Linked DNA regions of Homo sapiens: region 2 is linked to region 1. Evidence: promoter capture Hi-C in 16 types of primary human blood cells and fetal thymus (Javierre and others, 2016). All regions are on one chromosome and are shown on one strand. Each heading gives the region's core, a stretch centred on a gene start or on the middle of the fragment in contact. The rest is flanking DNA. Distances are from core to core; before and after follow the strand shown.

Region 1 (3,779 bases), core at 358-2,857:
TCTCTGAAAGTAGGAAGCTATCAGTCTCCCTACATGACTCGTTCCACCCTTTGTGGATACTTCTACCTGTAGAAAAAAAGGTTGGCAAACTTGGTGGCATGGTGAGGACAAAGGGCATTTTGAAAGAACCAGTGACTGAGGTAAGCAGAGAATGTGAACGGAAAGAGGGTTAAAGTTCCCCCAAATGGATAATGACAAGACGACGCGGGCACCCTTTTTTTTTTTTTTTTTTTTTTTACCACCCCTAGGGTCCCATTCTTCACCACCACCCATTGGAATGCAAAGTTGGCACTACCACTACCCAAGATGCCCAACAAATCCTCAAAATGTCAGGGCACTCGGCAGCTTCTGAAATGACAAGCTGGTGCCCCTCCCCCACCCCACCCCCACCCCCACCCCCCAAAAAAGAAAAGTCCAATCCAGTCGGTGCAGGTCACCCTGCCCTCTGGGGCAGTTCCAGCCTGCGCAGGGAGGGGTTCCGACCGGAGAACGAAAAAGCACAGATAGACCACCGCTCTTTCCACCCACCCTCAGCGGGGGAAACAAAGGCGGCCTCCTCCGCCCGTAGACACTACCCTAACCAGAGAGGCTCTCCGATTTCCCGGTGCAGCCTGCCCTCCCGCCCCCGCCCGAGCCCCCGCCCCCATGACAAAGAAAAGGCACTCGGCGAGCAAGGCCTTCCTGCCTCCAGGGATGGGGGAGGGGGCTGCACGGGTGAGAAGCCCCCTCCACTCGCCCGTGCTCATACTCCTGGTCCCAGGAACTGCAGAAAGCGGCGGGGAGCCGGAGGCCTCGGCCGCGGAAGCAGGGTCCGGGAGGAGGGTGAGGGTACCTTGAAGTAGCCGCCTTCGTAGAGGGTGTTGGGGGGTCCGAAGATGGCCACCTCCCAGTTGTAGAGGTCGGACTCGTCCACCAGGGTGATCCGGAAGCCCTCCACCGGTTCCTCCTGCAGGGATTTCAGCTCGAGCATCAGGGCCTTCTGCGAGCTGGTCATCTGCTGCTGGGCCATCGCGGCGGCGGCGGCGGCGGCGGCGCCGGGCCCGGGCCCCAGTCCTCACGCACCGGCCGGGCCGGACCAGGCCCCTCCCCTCCGCTCGCCCTCCGGCCGGGCAGCACCGGGCCCCGGTCTTCACACACCCGGCGGGCCAGACCAGGCCCCACACGGCCCGTGGGCCCGCCCGGGGTCCTCCTCACACACGACGCAGGCCGGGCCGGGCCCTTCTCCTCACACTCGGGCCGGGCGAGAGGAGAGGTCGAGGGAGTTAGGAGAATTCGCTACGGGTCCCGGTCCCGGGCCTCCCCCCCCCGGAGGGGGCCTCAACTTGGGGGGGGGGAGAGGAGGTGGAAGCGGAGGAAGGCGGCGGAGGGCCGGCGATGGTGAAGGGAGGGGGCCGGGCCGGCCCGGGAACGCCGCGCTCGCTCGCCCTCTCGTTCTCTTCGGGGGCCGCAGGGGCCGGAGGGCGCGCGGGGCAGGAGAGGGTGGGGGGAGAGCGGCGTGCGGGGGTCTCGCGGCGGTGGCGGCGGGGGCTGCGCGGGGGGAGGGGCGACGGCGGAGGAGGAGGAGAGCGAGAGCGCCTCGCGCCGCGGGAGCAACGGAGCCGAGAAGCAGGGAGGGAGGGAGGGAGGGAGAGAGGGAGGAGGGGCGCACGCCGGGTGCTGGGCGGCTCTCAGCGGCTGGCGGCCCGACGCGCGTGCGCGTGCCCCTCCCTCCCCTCCCCCCACCGTGCCTGGCTCTCCTCCACTACCACCTCCTCCTCCTCCCGTTTCCACGCCTCCTCTCGGTCTCCCGCGCGGTCGCGGCGCTTTGTGACGCTGGCGCGTGTCCCCCGCCCATAAAGATCCCAGAAGCAGCGGGGACCAAGGGCGGGCGCAGGGATTGCCGTGGCCCCAGAGTGACGGTTGTGCGGCTGGACGCCGCAGTTCCAAAGGCGTGCCCGGGAAGGGAACCCAGGTCTCCCGGCTCTCGGGGCCCTCCCCACTGTGGATCCAGGGGCCTCCGCAGCCATCCTGGGACGGGCCTGGTCGCTGCAGGCCCCTCCCCGTGACACCCAGTCTGCGGTCCCTCCACTTAGTAGCTACTTGATTAGGATGTGCTGACAATGTGGGTCTTTTCGGTGGGAACAGACCTTCCCGCAGGCCAGCCCACAGGCAAGTGTGCCCTTTGGCACGTTACTCACCCTGGGTGCGGCAGTTCCACGTGAGAAACGGGGTGAGACAAAAAGGTCAGCTTCTGCTTCCCTTCTTAACTACAAAGAGGAAGTTGTGAGGAAAAAGACAATAACAAACTGGGTCTCTAGCCCTTCTCATTGTGATTTGGGGCAAGTGCTCAGGCTGCCCTTCGCCTTCGCCATTTGTAAAATAAACTACTGTGGTTGAACTTAGGGGTCAAAGTTCCCTATAGGTGCTTGTGGCTTGAATGTCCACCCTGGAACTGAGGGACTTTCGAGATAATCATAACCGAAGTGAGATGTGGGGACAGTCTTTGGTCCCCCCGTGGTTCAGAATACAGTACTCCTTTCTCCTAGGAAGGCATGTCCTAGGATAACTGCCTAAAAAACATTTCCTAGAAAAGCCAGAATATTGTGAGAGTTCTACACACACAGTTTCGGAACTAGACAGATCTTGGTTCCAACCCTAGTTCCATTACTTCTCCCTGTATCATCAGTTTTTTGTTTTTTGGTTTTGTTTTGTTTGAGACAGGGTCTTGCTCTGTCACCCAGGCTGTAGCACAGTGGCGCGATCATGGCCCACTGCAACCTCCGCCTCCCAGGTTCAAGCGATTCTCCCACCTCAGCCTCCCAAGTAGCTAGGACTACAGGTGCATGCCTCCACACCCGGCTGTTTAATCAGCTTCTGTAAAAGGGGATTAATTATACCCAACACAAGCAATTGTAATGATTAAATGTATGTACAGCATTTAGCGTAGTGACTGGCACATGGTTAATGATTCATAGAAACTTGAAAGAAAAAAACTTTAAGGCATAGCTGTATTCTGGATACCACCACTACCCACCCCTTTTATTGAGACAGGGTCTTACTCTGTTGCCCAGGCTGGAGTACAGTAGAGTGATTATAGCTCACTCTAGCAGTAACCTCCTGGGCTTAAGCCATCCTCTAACCTCAGTCTCCCAAGTAGCAGGACCACAGGTGTGCACAGCCATGCCCAGCTAATTTTTGTATTTTTAGTAGAGACGGGATTTCACCATGTTGGCGAGGCTGGTCTCCAACCCTTGACCTCAGGTGATCCGTCCACCTCAGCCTCCCAAAGTGCTGGGATTACTGGCGTGAGCCACTGTGCCCAGCCAAGGACAGTTTTAGATTTATAGAAAAATTGAAAAGATAGTCAAGTTCCCCTACACCTGGCGCCCAGTTCCCCCTTTTATTAACATATTACATTAGTAGAGTACATGTATTACAATTAATGAGCTAATATTGATACATCACTGTTGACTGAAGCTCATACTTCCCTAATTTTTACCTACTGACCTTTTGCTGTTCCAGGATCTCATCCAGGATACCAGACTACATTCAGTTTTCCTGTTTCTGTAGATTCCTCTTGACTGTGGCAGTTTCTTAGACTTTGTTCTGATGACCTTAACAGTTTTGAAGAATACTGGTCAAGTATTTTGTAGACTGTCCCTCAATTGGGATTGTGATGCTTTTCTCATGATTAGACTGGGATTATGAGTTTTTGAGGGTAAGATCACAGAGGTGAAATGCCATTTCATCACATCATATTAAGGGCACAAATAGCAACATGACTTAGCAATGTTGATGTT
Region 2 (3,893 bases), core at 772-3,271, 43 kb before region 1:
TGATAAGCAATAAAGTTTTATTACCAACTATGAAAGTGGATCAACAGGCCGGGCACGGTGGCTCATGCCTGTAATTCCAGCACTTTGGGAGGCCGAGGCAGGTGAATCATGAGGTCAGGCGTTCGAGATCAGCCTGGCCAACATAGTGAAACCCTGTCTCTACTAAAAATAAAAAAAACTAGTCAGGCATGGTGGCAGGCGCCTATAATCCCAGCTACATGGGAGGCTGAGGCAGGAGAATCACTTGAACCTGGAAGGCAGAGGTTGCACTGAGCCAAGATCGTGCCACTGCACTCCAGCCCGGGCGACAGTGTGAGACTCCGTCTTAAAAAAAAAAAAAAAAAAAAAAAAGAAAGTGGATCAACAAATGGTATCTCTGGGGACAGTCATTTGGAAAAGAAACAACAGACTGAAAAGATTTAAAACACTTTCATCAATCCATATTTTACTCCATCAAAAAACATTCAAGTTTACCTTAAATATGTTACTGCTTTTGAAAAAGTACACAAAATAAACCCTTTAAAATTAAAATTGCAGAAGACTGTCAGATACTGTTGTTTCCCATTATCTAATTAATGAAGACTAGCTTGTTCAAACTTTTTTTTTTGAGACAGGGTCTCACTCTGTCGCCTAGGCTAGAGTGCAGTGGCATGATCTCAGCTCACTGCAACCTCCACCTACTGCAACCTCCACCTCCCAGGTTCAAGAGATTCGTGTGCCTCAGCCTCATAAGTAGCTGGGATTATAGGCTATGCGTGGCTAACTTTTGTATTTTTGTATTTTCTATTTTTTGTAGAGATGGGGTTTGTAGAGATGTCGGCCAGGCTAGTCTCAAACTCCTGACCTCGGGCAATCTGCCCGCCTCGGCCTCCCAAAGTGCTGTGATTAGAGGCATGAGCCACCAACCCCGGCCTGCTTTTTAAAACTTAACACAAGGTTGGCCAGGCGCAGTGGCTCACGCCTGTAATCCCAGCACTTTGGGAGGCCGAGGCGGGCGGATCATGAGGTCAGGAGATCGAGACCATCCTGGCTAACACAGTGAAACCCCCTATCTACTAAAAAAATAGAAAAAATTGGCCGGGCGTGGTGGCGGGCGCCTGTAGTCCCAGGTACTCTGGAGGCTGAGGCAGGAGAATGGCGTGAACCCAGGAGGCGGAGCTTGCAGTGAGCCGAGATCGCGCCACTGCACTCCAGCCTGGGGGACAGAGCGAGACTCCGTCTCAAAAAAAAAAACAAAAAACAAACAAACAAACAAAAAAAAACTTAACACAGGGTTAACGATTGTGGGGAGGGGGTGGGGAGGGTGGGGTGTCTCAGTCTGTCACCTAGTCTGGAGTACAGTGGCATGATCATAGTTCACTGCAGCCTTAAACTCCTGGGCTCAAGAGATCATCCCACCTCAGCCTTCCAAGTAGCTAGGGCTACAGGCCACCACACCCACAATATTTATTTAATTTTTTTGTAGAGATGGGATCTCACTATGTTGCCCAGGCTGGCTTCAAACTCCTATACTCAAGTGATCTTCCTGCCTCAGCCTCCCAAAATTGGTGGGATTACAGGTGTGAACCAACATGCCAGGCCTTGAGTTAACTCATATTCTATTTTACCACACCACCCCTAGAAAGAAGAAAATTCAAACAAATAAAACAAATAAAGTCAAACAAAAAATGAAAATCTGATGTCATACAACCATGAATCTGTGAAAATTCTGATTTCAAGCACACAAGAATTCAAAGAATGAACAAAGGAAAAGGTATTGACAGCAATGTTTTTACACAGCCAAAGAGTGGTAGGGCGTAGTAACAGGTCACTACCACAGGATGCTGGAGTCTCTTCCAAAAATGTATCTGCCACTTATAACCTAATTAATGACAGAAAATGTCAGGGGAAAGCAACTAGGAATCAGAGGAAAGGGGATGGTAATAAAAACATAAACTTACACAAAAGGCTAAAATGTCAGGAGGAAAAGAGGCTTGTGTATCAATATTTTGCCTGTCAGGAAGGTTTTCTTCCCAATCAAAAGAACTTCCTTTTACATAATTACTTGAGAAACGTGCCCTCCTAAAATGCTATTTTTTTAAAAAAAAAAAAAGGGCAGGCAAGGTGGCTCACACCTGTAATCTCAGCACATTGGGAGGCCAAGGCAGGAGAACTGCTTGAGGCCAGGAGTTCAAGACCAATCCGGGCAACACAGGGAGACCTTGTCTTTATAAAAATTTTAAAAATTAGCTGGACATGGTGGTTCATGCCTGTGGTCTCAGCTACTTGGGAAGGTGAGGTAGAAAGATTGCTTGAGCCCAGGAGGTTGAAGCTGTAGTGAGCCCTGATTGCACCACTGCCACTGCACTCCAGCCTGGTCATAGAGAGAGATCCTGTCTCTCTCTCTCTCTCTCTCTCTCACACACACACACACACACACACACACACACACACACACAAAAGGCTTAGATAACCACAAGGACTGTATGTTAAACATTAAACCTACATTTAAATAACCAAATCATATTTTCTTGAATCCAAAATTATTCTGAAAAACAAAACAAAGAAATTTAAAGTCTCAAGGCTCCTAACGTCACAACAATGCTTCTGTAAAAATTTTCAGCTATTTAGGGGGGAAATACTAGTTCTAGTAAGTTTTCCAAAATAAAGATGTAATGAAAAATAGTATCTCAGAGTCCATCCCAGTCTTAAGATTTTAATACTCTACATAAACCATTCTTGTAGGCATTTTGAAAATATGACCTACTATGTTAAAACAGGGATATTCTCAAGGATCTAAAACTATCAGGCAGGTTAGGGATTCCAAACTAAACTTGGGCAATGAGCCTAAGCAAATTTCAATATAAACTATGCTTCCCAGCTTAGCTTAGTTTTCATAAATTTCTGAATATGTCAGCTTTGAGCAGATATCAGAGTATTTTTAATCTATCAAAGATAAAATACACAGAGTATAGTAACAATTACATTTTGAAAACAAAAATTTTATAAAGGTTTAATGATTTCAAAGTATATGCATTACTGCTCAGAAACCACAATTCATAGCATATATTTTTTAATATTAAAATGAACTCTTCCGGCCGGACATGGTGGCTCATGTCTGTAATCCCAGCACTTTGGGTGGCCAAGGTGGGTGGATCATGAGGTCAGGAGTTCAAGACCAGCCTGGCCAACATGGTGAAACCCTGTCTCTACTAAAAATACAAAAATTAGCCGGGTGTGGTGGCAGGCACCTGTAATCCCAGCTACTTGGGAGGCTGAGGCAGGAGAACTGCTTGAACCCAGGGGAGCAGAAGTTGCAGTGAGCTGAGATTGCGCCACTGCACTCCACCCTGGGCAACAGAGTGAGGCTCCATCTCAAACAAAACAAAACAAAACAAAACAAAACAAACTCCTCCATAAACTGAAATGTAAAGAGAATACACTATTACCTGGCATAGTCCTAGAGTAGAATGCAATGATTTAGCACTGACTCTAATTAAAATATTTAATATTGGCCTGGCAACGGTGACTCATGCCTGTAATCCCAGAACCCTGGGAGGCTGGGGTGGGTGGAGTGCTTGAGCTCTATCAGGAGTTCAAGACCAGCCTGGGCAACATGGCAAAACCCTATCTCTAGCAAAATACAAAAAGCCAGGTGTGGTGGTGCATCCCAGCTACTTAGTGGGTTGAGACAGGAAGACTGCTTGAGCCTGGGAGGTCGTAGCTGTGGCTAGCCAAGATCATGCCACTGCATTCCAGCATGGCTGACAAAGTGAGACACCGTCTGAGGAAAAAAAAAATTAACATCTATACTCTATTATAGATTACAAATATTCAAAGAACCAAGTGCTTAACAAAATACACTTATTGTTCTCTACCTTCCTATTTTCTTTAATTTCTGATCAGAATGTAAA

Evidence for each region. Contacts are between HindIII fragments. The CHiCAGO score rates a contact against its expected background, and 5 or more counts as called.
Region 2: a fragment that was not itself captured here is called in contact with the fragment with the promoter of UBE2R2 in region 1 in 5 of 17 cell types (monocytes, M2 macrophages, total B cells and 2 more); the score reaches 8.1 in monocytes.

What each region holds. Positions count from the first base shown.
Region 1 is chr9:33,814,988-33,818,766 of GRCh38, reverse strand. UBE2R2 (ubiquitin conjugating enzyme E2 R2) reads right to left here and starts at 1,607. Exons shown (of 5, transcript NM_017811.4): 1 at 833-1,607. The coding sequence starts at 1,009. It overlaps UBE2R2-AS1 (UBE2R2 antisense RNA 1), which reads left to right. Exons shown (of 5, transcript NR_170204.1): 1 at 1-140. RefSeq lists silencers at 988-1,157, 1,228-1,437, 1,618-1,717 and an enhancer at 2,008-2,097. The HindIII fragment of the contact is 11,190 bases long and covers 1-3,779 here.
Region 2 is chr9:33,858,306-33,862,198 of GRCh38, reverse strand. All of the region lies in intron 1 of UBE2R2 (ubiquitin conjugating enzyme E2 R2), which reads right to left. Among named protein-coding and RNA genes, the nearest start is that of UBE2R2-AS1, 41 kb to the right of the region's middle. The HindIII fragment of the contact is 4,579 bases long and covers 1-3,893 here.